2 separate regions of the Homo sapiens genome follow, and region 2 is linked to region 1. Evidence: promoter capture Hi-C in human tissues and cell types (Jung and others, 2019). All regions are on one chromosome and are shown on one strand. Each heading gives the region's core, a stretch centred on a gene start or on the middle of the fragment in contact. The rest is flanking DNA. Distances are from core to core; before and after follow the strand shown.

Evidence for each region. Contacts are between HindIII fragments. The study calls those that stand out against the background at their distance.
Region 2: a fragment that was not itself captured here is called in contact with the fragment with the promoter of KCNT2 in region 1 in 2 of the 25 tissues and cell types used here (adrenal gland and liver).

What each region holds. Positions count from the first base shown.
Region 1 is chr1:196,606,686-196,610,844 of GRCh38, forward strand. It overlaps KCNT2 (potassium sodium-activated channel subfamily T member 2), which reads right to left and starts at 1,755. Exons shown (of 28, transcript NM_198503.5): 1 at 1,530-1,755. The coding sequence starts at 1,624. RefSeq lists an enhancer at 2,090-2,606. The HindIII fragment of the contact is 13,382 bases long and covers 1-4,159 here.
Region 2 is chr1:196,444,218-196,448,396 of GRCh38, forward strand. The region is part of intron 8 of KCNT2 (potassium sodium-activated channel subfamily T member 2); the gene reads right to left. Among named protein-coding and RNA genes, the nearest start is that of MIR4735, 140 kb to the right of the region's middle. The HindIII fragment of the contact is 3,543 bases long and covers 1-3,341 here.

The DNA.
Region 1 (4,159 bases), core at 505-3,004:
CTATAACCAAAGTATGTGCTTTATGTGTTTAATCTATCTCACACTTTCTACAAAGAGGATTTCTATTCTATATAATGATCCTGAGGTCCTGAACTAAATATACATTCAGTCACTAGGAACACCATGCTACACTTACTAAGCCATTTAACCAGGCTAATGCAGTTTATCTAAATGTCAATTTGTATTACAAATTCACTTAAAAATTATTTTCTTTATCTTCAGTTTACCCAAACACTTTACAAGAATACTGAGAAATTGGTATTACTTCTTTAAATTTTTAGCCAATATGTGTGGTTTTGCCTAAAAAAGAGATTGAACCAAAATATCCTCTACAAAACATCCATCTCCTTTCAAATTACTAATATGAGACCAAACAAGATGCCCATAATTGATGCTCAAGATAAAATCCTCAGTGTGTAGAGACAGGAGTTGGTATTGGGAGCTGAAAAGGTGAAGAAAAGAAATAGAGTGTATTGGTCAGTGGTGAATGAGGAGGGGATTTTGGATTGGACCAATAATGGATCTTTTATATAACTAAAATAGCACATCAATACTAAACTAAACTTCAATGAAACATTTCAATTGAGTTGAGAACCTAGTTAGTATACATGTATTATTTTAAAACAAAGAAATGTGGCATGTGATATATGGGATGACTATTCCAGAAAATACTAAATTCGCTGAAATACAAAATGTGCTTGAGACAGAAATAGACAGAGGAATTTCAGAAGTTTGTGCAAAGCAGTAATGCTATAAATAAAACACATGAACAATATTTTGCTAACAATAAATATTCTAGTTTTGAAACTTAATTTTAATTTTGAGACATATATTCTGTTTCAGTTAAAAAAATATACTAGTTATGAAAAGGTTGTATCATGTTATACAAACATCATTATTCATAATGGTCAGAGTCACCTGTTCAAAGTGAGTATATTGTATTAAAAAGGTTGTCATTTTCACTAACTACCTGTTACATATTTAAACCAATTGTCTACTTAAAACTCCAAAATGTTTAAACAGCATAAAATTTCCAGTGCCAAGTAGATACCTACTCAAGACAACACAGACAAGGAGGAGGTAAATAGACTCAGGAGATTTTAAGTTTCTAATGTGCTTTTTCAAACAACTTGCATGCAATTTTGAGTTTGATTAACCACACCTAAGGAAAAAATGCAAATTTTCTGGAAATGATATTGCATACCATTTGGGTGTATTGTACCTCTGATACCAGCCTTATACACATCCTAGAAAAGCACAGATAGACAAAAGAATAAGCACCAAATGAATGCAATAAATACCTTGCAAGAATAAGAAAAGTGTAAAGAAAAAGAGTTCCTTATCTATAGCAACAGTTATATAGAGTCAAAATGGAGAGACAAATCAGAGTCTCTTTTACTCCCTCCCCCAGCCTAGTCTCCCTCTCTGGCTCCGTTTTCCTTTTCTCCCTCCTTTCCCCACTTCGGCCCTCCCATTTCCGTCTCTTTTTCAGCAATATTTACAGAACAATCCTCCACCACACCACTCACCTGTCGTCGTTTTGCCATCCTTGGTCCCCTAGCAGCAAATCTCGAAACCTGTACCTGGGAGGCAGAGGGGGCACTTCGCTCTCCAAATCAACCATCCTTCCTCAAAGAGTGGGAAACATCAAACAACAAATGGAGGAGAGGAGGGAGAAAGAAAGAAAATATTGCGGAGTACAGGGAGAGGACTAACAAGACGCTGTGGCCGAGAGAGGGATGGGAGAAGGGGAAGGGGACAGGGAGGGGGAGGGGGTCCGCTTGGAGCCGGAAGCTAAGGCTTGAAAGGGGGCTGGCTCCTCTTTCCCGAGGGTGTAATGGGGATGATGCAAACCCAACCCAGGAGCAAAAGTCTGGCTCTGACAAGAATCAACGCTGCCAAGGAACCGCCCCCAGGCTCGGCACCGCCTCTGGTCCCCAGGACTAGGGGGAGGCGGGTATAAAAAGTTACTTCGCCGAAAAAGACGCGCGGTGCCTAGAAAGAGGGGAGAGGGGTGGGAGTGAGCGCCGCTTGATGGTGAAGCACTTTCCTTAAAGGCAGTTGCCAGATCCTCCCAGAGGGCAGCCTCCCGGCTACTGTTCCCTCGGGCGGGCTTGCATCCGGCACAGCCCTGAGCTGGCGGGAATCGGGGGCGGTGGGTTTCGGCCCCAGACGCGGCCAACCCGGCTCTCCCCGCAATCTCCCTGTGGAGATGGAGCTGGAGGCCCAGCCAATGAGACTCCCCCTCATTAGCATAGCACAGTGACGGCACGGGGGTGCCTTGGGGACAACCAATGGGGGCGAGCTAATTAGCGGATTGCGGGGCTCCAGACCCTTCTCTGGGAGGAGGGGGGCCAGGGTGCTTGGAGTGTTCCACTATGCCACGAGCTCCCTCGCTTTGATTGCCTTCAGTCCAGGTGGGCGGGATGAAAAAATTGCACGTTTCTGGAAAGGGAATCCCCACTCTCAGCCCCAGGAAAATCCCATTTTTTTCTCACATTCTGAAAGAAGGGAGGTGTTTCCCTGAACTCGGGGAAAAAGAAGGGCCACCTTAGGCCGCTGAAGAGAAGCATTTAGATGACAGGGAAAGCACATGGAAACGCACTGAGGATTTTACAGTGGTGAGTTGCTGTTACTGCTGTCGCTGCTACTAGCAGCGTTGTGGGCTTCCAGGTGGCCTGGCCTCAGCCTTCGGTCCCCTCCTATTAGTGGTTCACACGGAGGAAGAAGTGAGCCCGAGAGAACAGGGTCTGTTTTTCAGTAAGAACCACTGCTTACATGAACCCTGCTACACAAGCTATGGTTCTATTTGCGCTTACCGTTCTTTCCTTCAAAAACTGATTGCATCAGAGTATATACAGACCGAATACCAACCACCTGACAGCCTGGGCCGGAGGATAACCATATGGCTTCTCCTGCCCTTACTTAAGAACCGCTCTGTGTGGAGGAACAAGCTTGTTCCTTGATAAATGGATACGATGTGAGAGACAATAATCAAAGAACATACAGAGGGATTTGGAAATACCTGTGAGGTACACATACTTCTTCGAGGTGGGGGTCAAGGAAGACATTGAAAATGAACCAAGCCTTCTATATTCGTTCGCAGCCTACTTTAGGGAAAAGAGCAAAGGTGAAGCAAGCAGAGAGAATAGTATGAGTAGAGGCATAGGGATTTTTTAGAATATTTGGCTTATCCAGAAAATAGTGATTAATTTGGCATGATTAATGCTCAGTAGAGGTCATGTAGCAGAGGGTTTATTTAAGAAGCTAGAAATGAAGGAAGAAATTACCAAAACTTGTAACATCAAATGAAATACAATGACTACTGAAACCTGAAGAATAGCAGTTGAAATAAAAGTCATACTGTTTGTCTCTGTCTTCAAAATCCTACTCATCCTTCCAGACCCATCTCAAATTACATATCCTCCATTAGATTTCTTGGTTTTTCCAGCTTCTTATGATGTCTTCTTCCTTTGAACCCCTTTGTTTGAACCCTTCATAACCCATGTGAGTATTTTGCCTGGAATGCTTACTATAACCTGACCCGCTATACGATTATCTGTGCGTTTTTCTTTCAACTCTTCCCCTCTCCCTGTGGCTTAGCTGCCTCTAGCACGGGACCTTCAAAATAGCCACATTTCAACAAATAGGTGTGGAGTTGCATTAAAAGCTATTAAATCTAGGAAATTAAGCATGTTTTTTTCCATCCATGCTTGCACTCCTGTGGTATGTGTTTGTTTATGAAATCATAATTTAGCACGAACTTTTGTAATTACTTTGCTAAATAAGAAAGTAATATTGCTACATTATTAGTTTATACAGATAGAGATAGAGAGAGAGATCTGGTTTATATTTTAGACCTTATCATCTCCTATTAAAATGATTCTATTAATTTTATTTGTAATGTTCCAAGTTAATATTTATAGTTACAGTCTAACTGTATTATTTGGATGACAGAAAATCTGAAATATTTACATATCATTAACAGACTAAAAATCAAGACACTGAAAAAAGAAAAAAAATAGCAATCGATTGTTAGTCCTGGGATGCTGGAGGTTAGAGGGTAAAGTAACATTTTACTTAAAAGAAAGCTATGTGCCTCTATTTTACCTTTTGTGAAAATCTTAGTCATTTGGCTTCCAAATACTCAGATAAAAGT
Region 2 (4,179 bases), core at 320-2,819, 160 kb before region 1:
CATATAAACTTTTCTGACTTTAATATTAGAAAGAACTTACACTGGTTTTCTGAAGCTCACTGTGATATCAGAAATCCGTTTCTAAATATACCTTTACTCCCTTCCCAGTAATACAATAATACAAAAGGTCAATCGTTCTAAGAATTATGTTTCCCTTTTTCCTTTTTTTAAGGCTTAACTTTCAAAAACAAGCAAGCATAATGCCTATTCTGCTTTCCTTTGAATTTATATTTCGTCGTCCTCTCATCAGTTTACCTTAAAAAAAGGGAATTCTTGATAGGAAAAGTTTCAACATCGTGACCAGTTAAAAACAAATTCTACTGGTTATAAAGAAGATTTAATAAAATTTTTCATCAAAAAGTCAACTGTAAAATGCATTACTCTGGTGCAGTATGATCATAAACAAAAGCATTTCGAGTAGGGCAAATGTGAATAGATGAGGCCAGTGAAGAAAGCAGGGACAAATTATAAATTATTTCATATACAACACTAAGATATTTGCATTACCCTGAAGACTCTAACAGCACAAATGAAGAATTTTAAGCAAGAGAATGAAATCATTTGGGAAGTGTTTGAGGTCATCAGTAAATCAATATCTACTGATATTGTGAGTGGTTCCTACTGCCCCAAGCAGCAAATATATTTACACTAAACTATTAGTCTCAGGCTGAAAATCACTTTAATACTGCCCATGAAAATCACCCAAGTGAATTTATAGCTCTAACCAGAGCAAATAATAGATACAGAAATGCTACTAAATTCAGTCTAAAAGGATTTTCTAAGTTGTGAGCCCTTTATTCTCTACAACCTACTTTTCTTTTTGCTTAAATTTATTTTACTTATCTCATTCAGCCCTTAAAAGTAAAGTGTATATCCAAGAAATAATATAGAAATATTAGCTTACACACTATTTCCATTATATGTTTAAAGATATGTTCACAGATTTGATAAAAATAAAATAATATATGTATACATCCCATCTTCTTTACTATCAAGAAGTTAGTAAGATTAACACTCAATTTAAATGTCCTTGCACATGTGAAATATGAAATAGGACCAAATAAATATCAGCTAATTTAAACGATTTGTACACATTTATTGCATTTCCAAAAGAATATCTTGCTAGCTGCTGCCAGATAACAAGACCAAATAGTCTCTAGTCAACATTTTCTGGAAATTAAATGAGGCACAAAATAAGCTTTGTTTTATTCTATCAGAAATGGTCCAAATGTAACCATTAAAAATAAAAGAGAAAGTACAGCTTAACATGTCTCTTCACATTGTAAGCAATGAGAATTACTCTCACAATAAGACTGACTCTTATTTTTATGTAACTACTTATTTGAATTCAATTCTTAAAGTGTAATATTAAAATATCATGTTCATCAACAGAGAAACTTTGTCATAATGATAGCCCTTTCAGTTTCATAATAAGCTCTGCTTAAAATCAACTGAAAAATTTCTCCCTTCTAAGAGATGGTTAATGAACTTATATCCATTTCATGGACTATAATATTCATAGATAATTCTGTAATATACAAACATAACCATATGTGAGTAACAACACTGTTGAAAGGAAGCTGAGCAGTCCATGAGCATTCAACTAACCTTTCTGTCAATGGTACATTTAATTGCTTATAAGCTAGTATCAAATACATCAGTATCTTTACAGAATGGCCTCTTAGACCAAAAAAAAAAAATTACTGCAAATTACAACTGTTTTCCTGATCAATGATATTTGTTCAAAGAGCAGTGTCAGAAGGTCAATGACACATTCTAAACTAAAGAAAGTTACTGGAAAACATAGTCTGTGTTAGCATTAACCTAACGGACATTGCTCTTATGACTTTAATTTTTAGAAAATTTGTCAGAGACTTAGCATATCAGATTCTTTAAACTCAAGGAGATTAAGGTAGGCAATAATATTGCAATTAAGATGCTACCATTCAATAAAAGCTTCTACTCTGTATTTTTTTCAAAACACATGACAAAAAAATTAAGCAAAAGATAGATTTCTTTAAATCCAACATGTACAATAAATATACTATTCTCTATACTTTTTCACTCCATGAGACGCATTCAACTAAAAATAACATTTAACGGTCATTATTCTAATTGTCTTTATCTTCATTCTTAGCAATTATCAATGTCATAGAATAACAAACCCATGATGACACTGATGAAAAGTATGGAGCAAGCTGTGGAACCACAGCTTACTGGTTGGGAATAACTGATTGATCTAGTCCAACTCGTTTCTCTAAAGAAGCAGCATCTTAGGGCAGTAAGGGTAAAAATCTTGACCAAGATTCACTCTACTCATAGGAGGTAGCCCTAGAAATACAATAAAGCTTTTCATCAATTACCCCCAACTTTGTGGAAGTTAAATAAGCCTTCTCTGTGAAATCTTTGAAATTAGACATATCTTCATTTTTGAGATATATCAATTAGGAAGAGAGCCAGTTACCTACAAGTACTTTGTTTATTCAGGGGCTGTATTCTAAGTCCACATTTAAAACCTAGTGAACTAAACCAGTAATAGTTATTAAGCTACTAATTAACTAAGACAAATGTTCCAAATAAGATGAAATTTAACTAAGCTATACTGTCTTTCCTAAGTGAAAAATTTGTCTACTGTGTCTTCCTTCCACTTATGTAATGTAAAAGAACTCACTTAATATCACTCTTTTTACTACCACCTGTCTTTACCCATTAGAAATGTAGATCTATAAAGTTTTGATCCCTGTTTTAAATATTTGTTGCAAGGTTCAAAACATGGCTAGTATGAAAAGAATAATATAGTTCATTAATTGGCCTTCATTGTTAATCGCTTTGGATGAAATTGAACTTAAAGTAAAATCACTGTTTCACTGTTTCATTTTTTCTTTCTCTTTCTTTCCATCTTCAATGAAATATTTTGCCTCAAATGTATGATAAAAACTCAGTTTCATTTCCAGAACATATTTTATGTTATCAAAAGAAAAAAACTGTGATACAAGCAAATGATCGAAAATAATGGAAAACATGTATTACAGAGCAGTTGGTGGTAGATGGTGTAGCAATATTTTTAAGACCCTGAACTGAGTTGTCAAGAAAGATTTCTTTAAGTATTTGACATATAAGCCAAGACCTAAAGGAGGCCGAAAGCTAAGTAAAGAACATACAAGGAATCAGAAACATTTAGTTCAAAACCCACACGTCAGGAATCATCATAACATCATCAAGGAACAAAAAGAAAGCTGTGGTGAGGAAGCCTATTGAAGGAGAGAAAGTACGATGTAAGTTGGGGTCAGAGAGATAAGCATTATAAGGGAGCAATTATGTTGAAGACAGACCAGATCATCCAGGCAAGAGATAATGGAGCATAAAAGGAGTAGTGACAGTGCAGAGCTGGATGTAAAGATTTGGGAGGTAGAGCCAATAGGGCTTATCAATGGATTGAATACTCAGTGTGAAGAAAGGGGAGGAGTCCAGATATGCCAAGTTTTTTTCACTTCTTTTAAGGGATAGGGTGAATAGTGGAGTAACTGACAGAGAAGATAGACGAAAAAAGTTGTCTGGAAAGACAGAAGAATTAACAACGTTTTTTTGGACTGCTGCAGTTATCAGCTTCTAGATGATCTTGAAATCCGTCTACCTCTATGAGCATCTAGGCAGATAGAGAAGTCAGGCCACCGAGAGCAGGAAGAGCCTTGAAAACTTTCTCTCTAACTCTTACCAAAGGTCTGGAAAGAGAATGATATTAGGAAAAGTTAAATGAAAGTGTAAATTATTCTTCCACTGCTCTATGTTTTCTAATGGATCTCCTAGGATAAAGTTGAATCTTGGAAAACACCATAATTTTCACCACAACATGTCATCCCCTGAAAAAAGAATTGCTTTCAAACTACTGATAAGGCTTCAATGCATGAAAAAGAAGGCAGAGCATGGTCAGAGAAACCCAGACTCATTTCTGATGTCCAACTTACTTAAAAACTCACTTAACTCCCTCTGACCTTATTTGTCTCATCTATAGACAAGAGATAATAAGTATCTCAGTGTCTTAGAGCTATTACTGGAATTAAAAGAGATAATGCAAGCAAAACTCTAAGGCAATAGGCAGGGAGCCAATGCTATTTGCACATTATAAAAATTTTTATAAAAAATATATTGTATTATTATATATAACATTTCTGTATTATT